3 separate regions of the Homo sapiens genome follow, and regions 1 and 2 are each linked to region 3. The links are contacts of gene promoters, found by promoter capture Hi-C in blood cells and fetal thymus (Javierre and others, 2016). All regions are on one chromosome and are shown on one strand. Each heading gives the region's core, a stretch centred on a gene start or on the middle of the fragment in contact. The rest is flanking DNA. Distances are from core to core; before and after follow the strand shown.

Region 1 (2,843 bases), core at 319-2,818, 780 kb before region 3:
TGGCTAAGGGCTGAATAACTGGCTGCCCAGCCAATAACAATACAGACTCACACAGCACACCCTTTCTTGTGGAGAGCGCGGAGTGGGTTCCCGGCTATCTCCTTTCAGAATTTCACAGGCTATTCACGGAAGGCATGCAGATCTACTTTGTAAGAATTAGTTCTTAAAAAAAAAAGATCTGAAGACGACTTCCAGGGAGGCCAAGGAGCTTAATTTAGCCAGCCAACGCCCTTTTCTATTCATTGTTCTATACTTCTTTGTTAGGATTTTTTCCCTCCCTCTTACTCTTTTTCCCTTCCTGGTTAACTTCTCTGCAGCCAGGCTCCGCCACTGCCCACTTCTCACCGCCAGAGACACTATAGCCCCCTTCCCTGCTGTAATGAGGCCCTCCCCAAGGCCTCATGTGGGCCCATCACCCCACATCCCCTTTATCTCCACCTAGAACCTGCGAGGTGGTCCCAGGGCCTCCTGAATCTGCAGACGTGTCCCCTAGGTTGCTGCGGAAGCCACTTTCCACCTGCAGGTCACCGTCAGCCCCAGGCACCCCTGCTGGAGGGAGGGAAGCCCGAATGCAGCTCTATGTTCCAGGACCTGCAACCTCTGAGCCTCAGCCTTCCTATCTGCAAAACGACGCTACTGTCCCATTTTCTCAAGTCCTTGCCAGCTCCAAACAAGATTCCCATGTTCCAGAGGGAGATGCCAGGAGAAAACTTTCGTACATTTTAAAACAGAAGTTACTGGAGAGAGGGGGCAGGGGATGTTTTTAACCCTTTAAAGGCGTAGCCACTCAAATGATCCATTCCCAGAGATCTCCTCCATCGCCCAGGCCGGCTCTTGCCAAAGAACGGAGTCAAATTCGGCGAACCCTAGAGGGGCTACCTGTGGCTGGGGACTGCGGGTCTGCGCGCCTCTGGACAAGGAGGGGCAAGGCGGGCGGCCTGAGAACAGGCACTTCTGTCTCTCCCGCTTTCTGTCTCAGACCCCTCACCGGCTGGAGCCAGACTTTTCCACAGATGAGCAGGACGGGAGTTGGGGGGACACGGAGAAGACAGAAAGGGGTAGAGGAGCCGCAGGGAGGCGAGTAGGGGGGCGAGGCGGGAGGAAGGGATGGAGGGGGAGAACGAGGCAAAAGCGGGGAGGGGAGGGGAGGGAGGGAGGAGGAGTCGGGAGGGACCCGGGCAGCGCCGCCGCAGAGCCGAGGGGAGAGCAGGGGAGGAGGGGACGGGAAGCGCTGGAGGCAGAAGTTTTCCAAGCCGGGGGCCCTCGGTCGCCCCCGACGGGGCGCGGGCTCAAGGGGGCGTGGGGGCCGCGCCGCACTCACATAATGCTTGTTGGGCACCCGCCGCTTCTGCACGTCTAGCACCTTCACCTCCACGATGCTGCGCCGCGGCGGCATGGCCGCTCCTCCGCCCGCAGCGGGCCGAGCGCGGGTGCGGGTGGCGCGGGGTGCAGGGAGCGCTGGGGGCGCGCCGCCGCGGGCAGGGAACCTGGAGCTGAGCGCAATCGCAGCCGGGGCCGAGCACGAGCCGCCGCCGCCACCGCCGCCGCCCTTCGCTCGGCGCGCACTCCAGCCGGGCCCAGCCGCCGCCGCCCGCCCCCGGCCCGCCCCCCGCACCGCCCCCCGCACCGCCCCCCGCACCGCCCCCCGCGCCGCCGGCCCGCCCCCCTTAAAGGGCCCGGCCCCGACCCCCGCCCACCGCGCGCGAACCCCGCCGGCCACGTCCGGCCCCCGCCCGGCCTTTGTCCCGGTGCTGAGCCGCCGCGCCGGGGGAGGGGACTGGACTGACCCCGTCGCCCGTTCACTGATTGACGTATCGATTCATTCCAGCACTCTCGCTCCGGCAGCCGCCATCCACCGCCAGTTTGGAGAGCCGGACACCCGGGTTCGAATCCCGGCTTTGCCGCTTTTCCACTCTGTGCCCTCGGCAAGTTGCTTAACCTCTCTGGGTTGGGTCTCTTCGTCTATAATATGAGCCTAGTAGTACAAGCACCATGTTTGTCTTTTTGTGTCTGGCTTATTTCACTCGGCATAATGTCCTCAAGGCTCATCCATGTTGTAGCACGTGTCAGTAGTACCGCCTGCCTGCCGGTGCTGCGCCCGGGATTAAGTGCATGTGAAGCCATTCCGCAGTGCAGTCCATGGTATGAGTGCTGGCGTTCCTAAAGCCACCCCAAGCCCTGGTGATTCAGGAGGAGCAAGAGACCCGTGACCAGGTTCCCCCAGCCTCAGTCTGGGACATGGGGAGTGAGGGAGAGAAAAACTGCAACAAATGCGCATACGTGCAATGTAATTGCCATGGAAGCAACAAAAGGGGATAAAAGGGTGGTGACTATGTGTGAGGGGCAGCTGGGTGCTTGTTAGCAAGGCCATCGATTTCCAGTTGCGGAGCACTTAACTGCTCGCTGGGCCCCGTGGCCCCTGCTTTTCACAAATGCTGTCTTTGCATCCTCAGGCAGACTCTAGGAGGAAAAGGTGTTTTTACAGAGGACGGCCTCCAGACATTTGGACATTTCCAATGAGGCCTGAGGACCCTCTGACTTGGGAACTGTACTTCAGAAGAATGTGCCTTACAGGAATTACATCAGTGAAGGTCCAGAGTCAGGGAGCCGGTGGATGGAGCCCGTCACTGCCTGGCTCTAGGTGGATCTCACACGTTGAAGCTGCCGTGGCTGGGGCAGCTCCTCGTTTCTTCATCTAGTGCCTCCTAGCACTGGCTGGGCACTGAGTCACTTTCAGGAGATGTTGGCTGAATGAATGGATAAATGAATATATAATGCATGGATGGGAGGTTTAGGCTCCTGGCCAGTGTTTTCACAGCCAGTAAGTGGGGGCTCTTTTCAAC
Region 2 (2,963 bases), core at 304-2,803, 590 kb before region 3:
AGGCAGAGGTTGCAGTGAGCCAAGATTGTGCCATTCCACTCCAGCCTGGGTGACAGAGTGAGACTCTGTCTCAAAAAAAAAAAGAAAAAAAAAAAGGATCACGCTAACGGACCTTTCTCAAACAGAACTTTGGGGTTAAAAATTAAGTCACTGGGCGAGCACCTGTAATATGAGAAATTAGTAACTCAAATGCAAGGCAATCTTATGTTCAGACATATGACGTCAGGGGGGAGTGGGGAATCAAGGTTTCCCGGAAGTGGAAGCTTGGAGCTGGCCTTAAAGACCCTAGAACCCTCTGGGATGGGTCATGTACTGTAAGCAGAAGGCACCGGAGATGCAGAAGGCTGTCTCCTGAATACCCCGCTTTTATTCGCATAGCTTCAGGCTAGCTTTGCCCTGTACCATTGGAAGATCTTGGGCACCTCTCTTCCACTCTCAGAGCCTCAATTTCCCTATCTGTGAAATGGAAGTAATAATACATATTTCATAAAGTCTCAAGGGATACAAGAGCATGAAAAATAGAATTGAAAAAAACAGCTCATTTGGAATCGGGTCTTCTTGGGGAAGTCATTGCACTTCCTGGGCCTCAGCGTTCCAGCCTGTGAAATGGAGCTCGAGAAGGGCACAGCTGCACTTCCCACTGAGTGTGGTCCAGGTGCCTGAATGAGGAATGCCTGTTACTGCCTCTGCCAGGAACACTCTACCTATCTCTTCTCATGGCCGACGCCTTCTAGTCCATCAGATGGAGCTTATGTGCCCCCACCCCAGATTCTCCCTATGCCCCCAAACAATGTCATCTCCTCACTCTACTGGGATCTGTTTTATTTTCTTCCTGGCTTTGATTATTATATAATGTGATCGTAATTGCTTGTTATTTCTATCTTCAGCATGCCATCTCCAGGGCAGTGGGGACCTTGTCTGTATCTACCCGGCCCAGCACAGTGCCTGGTGCATAGACTGTGCTCAATAAATATTTTAGTGAATGAGCGAATAAATTAATGAATGTGGGTTCCCTCTTCCCAATCTTTGGACACTGGGTTTCTTCTATTCCTCGGTACCTGGCCTAGGGGATAGAAAAGACTCCACCCAAACCCGGGAACCCTGGGTGTACTGTCTCCAAGCCCTTTACATGGTCCCAGGGGCCCGTCTGCCTCTGTGTAAGTTCCCCCGGGGCCGAAGCACTCTCCAAAGAGGTCTGCCGGGGCTAGGACTCGGCCGGCTGGGGCCCCGCGCCTGGAAGAGGGCCTGGCACACAGTGGGCCTTCTCAAAGTGTTAGAACAAATGGGTGACAGGCCAGCAGACTGCCGATCCTGGCACCCGAGGGCACCCAGCTGCCCTGCGCGCCTTCCCGGCCCGGGCGCGGGAGCGGCGAGGGCGGGAGGCTTGGCTGTGCTTCTCCCGCCGCCTGGTGCAAACTTTCAAAAGATGCGGCGGCCGCGGCCCCGCCCCTGCACTGTTGGAGGCGGTGGGAGGCGGGGGCGGAGCCGGCGGGCCCGGGCCGGTGGCTCCGCCTCCTCCTCCCGCAGGCGCCGCCGCCGCCTCCCTCCCGGCTCCCGCCCCAGCTGCCGCCCGCCGGCTCGCCCGTGCAGCTGCGATGCCCCGGAGCGTCGACCCCGGTCCTGGTCCCTGGCCCGCCGCGTAATTAGCCTCCGCGCGCCCAGAGCGCGCCGCCGCCAACGCCGCGCCCGACGCAGCGATGGGCAACACGGTGCACCGGACCCTGCCAGGTACGCCGGGGAGCCCTGCCCGGGAGGCGGGCGCCGGGCTTCTCTCCTCCGGGGGACCCGCTGGGTGACTCTGGAGAGCTACCCCACGGCCCTTGGAGCCCTCGGCTCGCAGCGGGCTGGAGTCTCCGGTACCTCCCGGACCTCAGCTCGGCGCGCGCCCCGCGGCTGGGCTTTGCGCCCCGGGAGGGCGGGTACCGCGTCCTGGTTACCTTGGGGACCCCAGTCCTCATTCTCCCGGCTTTGGCCAGATGCGCAAAAAGGGCCGCTGGGGCGATGCCGCGCGCCCCCTCGCCTTTGTTCCAGCCCGAGGGCGCTGATGAGCAAACTCAAGGCGACCTGGGTGGGGGTGACTGGAGCCGGGCTCGCCAGGGCTTCCGACGGTCAGAAGCCACCCGTGGTGCCAAGACTGCAGCTGCCGAGAGTGAGGGGTGCTCTCAGGGGCACCCCAGTTTCCAGCCTCCCAGCGCCCCCGCGGCACATGCTGCCGTGCTTTGGCCACGTTCCCACGCGCACCCCGGTTGCGCCCCCCTCTGGTGTCCGCTCCACTGGGGACTCCTTCGCCCCCTCGGAGTCGCTGCTGCAGATCGCATCGCCCCCTAGTTAAAATCGCCCCAGAATTTCTGGGACCGGAGTGAGGGGATCCGGAGCAGGTTAACGGGGTAGGAGGAGGCCTTACTGGAAAATACATGGTAATTGTGGGAACAGATCAGCGGTCCCGCGCCCGCGCGTGCCCGTGGAGGTTCAGTGCCCAGCACTTTGCATACCCCAGCTCGGTATGCAAAGAAGCTTCGCGATAAAGATGTGTATCCCAGTTTTACAAATAAAAAAATTGAGTGTCAGAAGAGGTGAAATGACTCACCCAAGGTCACACAGCTAGTAGTGGGAGAATCTGGAGTGGGACCTGTGTCTCTCTGCCCTCCCTCCCCTCACACGCCCAAGTATTTAGAAGTATTTTGTCTTAAGGCTGGGCCTTTGTAGCATCCTTTGGGCAAAAGGTGAGAGGAGTGTGTGTGTGTCTAAAGCACAAAGGCTCGGCTCAATGGGGAAGCAAGTCAGCTGTGAGGTTAATTTAGTGTGAGGTTCTGGAAGAGGGACATATCACCCCATCTCTGCTATAACACTCCCATATAGCTCTCCCTTCTAGGCATTACATGCTCTTAAAGAATAATTTCCCCTGGAGCGGGTTGAAGTGGACAGTGCTGAGCCCAGGATTCCCAGGGTCAGCTTATGGAAGA
Region 3 (3,138 bases), core at 184-2,683:
ACCTGCCTTGCTGGCTTCCTCGAATTGGTAGCGATCAGTTCTAGCCGCCGTGCCCGCCCGAATTTGTTCCCAGGCCTCTGCTCCTCAACAAACCTATGAATTCTCTCCCGGCTGGCAGCGGCCCTTCGCCCAGCGCTTCGCCCAGCGCCTGCGGCCTCCCGGGAATCGCCCGGGCTCCTGCCTTGGGCTGGGGGGTCTCCCAGAAGGCCCCTTTCTGCAGCGGGGCCGGCCTCCCTCCCCGATCCTGGGATGGCCTGCGGGATGATCCCGCACTCATCTCGTCCACTCCCTTGTGCCCGCGGTAGCGCAGCATTTCCTAACTTTTCCACGAGGGAACCTCTCCGCCCTGGCCGCGCCGGCAAGTTGTGCTGAAAAAATAAAGTGAAGTCAGATTCCTGAGGGTCCGCAGTATCCCATTTTAAAATCAAGGCCCTCGATCCCAGACTCCACTTTCCTGGCGCAAAGAAAGAAAGGCACCAGAAACCCGGGTCGTGGGTGGGCTGCAGAAAGAAGGTCCAGGACCCTCCTCCGATTGTACGCAAAAGCTGTCTGGTGAGCAACATTTCAATTTCTGTTTAGCGGTTCTCATCAGATCTTTAAAAAGATTCGTAAATCCAAAGGAGATTTAAAAACAGAGATTATCTGCTTGTCTCTCTGTTCTGTCTACCATAAACCGATTTCTCAACTTCCTACCAGACCCAGGAGCAGAGCCGAAGCCGCCCGGGGCTTTGTTAGGCCGGGGGGAAACGTTTTTTGGTCTCTTGCTTCTGATCCTTTCAATCCGGCATTTCCTCTGAACCTCCGATTGGACGCGGGGCGCGGGAGCCTGGCGACAACACCAGGCATCTTACATTCTGAACCCCCCGCCGCAGCCCAGCCCTCGGCCCAAGGGCGCGTGTCTCCTCCTCCTGGCCCTGAGTTTCTTGGGGACGAAAGCGACCCAGGAGGGGAGAAGGGGGCCTGTGTTTCCTCCTCACCTTTCTTTTCGGCTCTAGGGTCCTTGGCTGGGTCGGGGTCGCTGTAGGCACGTGGATAGAAGGCGGGGGCGGCGGGAAAGGCAGACGCACACTTGGCCGGTGAAGGCGCGCGGCCCAGCTCTGCGCGCAGCTCTGGGAGGCCCGGCGCAGCCGCCTCGGGCCCAGCGTAGGCCTCTGGCTTGAAGGCGGCCAGCATGCAGGAGGAGGGCGCCAGGGTCGCCTCCAGGCGGGCAGAGAGCTCTCCGGCGGCAGCCAGGCTGCGCTGCTGCTGTTCCAGGTTTAGGATGTCTTTGACTGAGAAGGGCGTGGGCGTGAGAGCAGGGCTGGGGAACATGGTGGCAGCGCCAGTCTCACAGCGCCAGGTGGGCGGCAGAAAGCGGCGCTGCCCACGGCCCCTGGCAGCTTCCCTGCATGGTGCCGCCGCCCGCCCGCGCACCCGTCGGCCAGCTCTGGATGTGTCCGGGCAGCAGGTAGCGCTGAGCACAAGGGGCAGGAGAGGCGGGACCAGGCCAGAGGAGGGGGACTCAGCCTGCCATTGGGCCAGGGGCCTCGATGACAGGAGCGATGAGCAGTTTCGTGTCACCTAATATAGTCATACGGCAAAAAAAAAAAAAAAAAAAAAAAAAAAAAAAAAAAAAAAAAGCCCTGCCCAGCTTTTTTAAAGGGGCCACGACGCATTTGGAAGGGTCTCCTTTTGCTCCTGCAGCCTGCGTTTGCTCCCTAATGTGAGCCTGAAAAGCCTACCAGAGGCATGCAGAGTCAGGCCTCTGGGCAGGGCTGGATGGGTGTGGGTTTGAAGAAATATTCCTCAGCACCCAAACCAGCATGGGAGAGAGAAGGATGGGGTGGGAAGCGGTGGGGAGGAGAGTGATTTGAGGAAGGCTTTATTACTGAAGGTGGTGGGATGAGGGAGAGTCTGAATAGGAAGAGAAGCCTGGAGGACAGGGCTGGCTTTGGGGATAGCAGCAGGGCGAGATTCTGGACAATTCGGGGGTTTGGTTTGGCTTGGCCTACAGGGTCAGTCATGCCGCAGGCTCTGGGTGCTTCTGGGCGAGTCAACGAAAGTAAGGGCAAGGTGAGTGATGGCCAGGTGGGGTAGGAGTTGCTGCCTCCTACAGTAGTGTTATGCACAGCACAACTCCAGGGGGCATCAGTCACTGCCAGTACCCTCCCAGGGAAATGCCTCTCCCCTTAATAATGAAATAAATCAGGAATCCCAGCTGGTAAGCTCAGCTTCCCAGGAGACACCTGTCTTGTGGAGTGCCCCAGCTACCAGCCACCTTGTTTCCCCTGTTTGGAGGCCATCGATCCCACCTCCCTCCTTCCCGTGCCCTCCCTGCCTGGCAGCAAGGCCCTCAGGCTTCTGCCAACCTCGAGGTTTCAGGGTCCTAGCCCAGGTTTAGCTCTCAGGGAGGCGGGGCTCCTCTGAGCCCAGCTAGGCCAGGATTTCTCTGAGGCCTCTGGGCCGGACTTCCAGTGGGGCACCCCTGCGGCTCGGTCAGGCGCGTGGGGGAAGGGCAGGGCAAGTGGGGTGATCATGATCATTTTTAGCCCAGGGTCAGTAGAGTAGGGCACAGAAGTCAGACAAATCTGCCAGAGTTTCAGGAGCGCCAGCTACATGGCCAGATCCTGCCCGGGTGGCCTCATTTCTCTGGGTCCCCGCACTCCTTGGGAGGTCTGATGAAAGCTTGGGGTCTTCTCCATTCCCCAGAACACTGCAGAGAGGAGTTTTATTTTGCTTACAATTCAGGAGTCCGGGCAGGCAGAGCGGGCCCAGGTTAAGGACGCCTTCTAGAGCTGGGGATGACAGGATTTGTCAGTGGAAAAGCGTTGGCTTCTCACGGCCCTAGCTGGTACAGGGAACCGCGGGCGGGAAGCTGGGCGGGACGCGTGGACTTGCTGAGAATGGGGATGTGGAGGGCTTGGCTCTTTGCGGAGTGCGGGTTGGCAAGAGGCGCTTGGAGTAGAATAAAGGCGGCGCAGGGCCAAAAACTACCTAAAGACACAGCTCCCGCAGGCGCGCCCAAGGTGCGGAGGAAACGCTCCATGTATGGGGACAAAATAGTGTCTGTCCAGAACGTACATCTTGGGTGCTCAAACCCGACAGTGTGCCGTCTGAGACGCCGACGCAAGTGAAGTCAAGCATTGGCCTGATGTTGGG

What was found. Contacts are between HindIII fragments. The CHiCAGO score rates a contact against its expected background, and 5 or more counts as called.
Region 1: the fragment with the promoter of SH3PXD2B here is called in contact with the fragment with the promoter of NKX2-5 in region 3 in 2 of 17 cell types (erythroblasts and neutrophils); the score reaches 5.5 in erythroblasts.
Region 2: a contact is called between the fragment with the promoter of NEURL1B here and the fragment with the promoter of NKX2-5 in region 3, in 2 of 17 cell types (neutrophils and endothelial precursors). The highest score is 6.1, in neutrophils.

Annotation. Positions count from the first base shown.
Region 1 is chr5:172,452,957-172,455,799 of GRCh38, forward strand. It overlaps SH3PXD2B (SH3 and PX domains 2B), which reads right to left and starts at 1,569. Exons shown (of 13, transcript NM_001017995.3): 1 at 1,322-1,569. The coding sequence starts at 1,396. RefSeq lists an enhancer at 535-1,056. The HindIII fragment of the contact is 9,231 bases long and covers 1-2,843 here.
Region 2 is chr5:172,639,710-172,642,672 of GRCh38, forward strand. NEURL1B (neuralized E3 ubiquitin protein ligase 1B) reads left to right here and starts at 1,554. Exons shown (of 5, transcript NM_001142651.3): 1 at 1,554-1,728. The coding sequence starts at 1,698. RefSeq lists a silencer at 1,316-1,605. The HindIII fragment of the contact is 2,251 bases long and covers 262-2,512 here.
Region 3 is chr5:173,233,773-173,236,910 of GRCh38, forward strand. NKX2-5 (NK2 homeobox 5) reads right to left here and starts at 1,434. Exons shown (of 2, transcript NM_004387.4): 1 at 978-1,434. The coding sequence starts at 1,311. RefSeq lists an enhancer at 1-113. The HindIII fragment of the contact is 9,083 bases long and covers 1-2,662 here.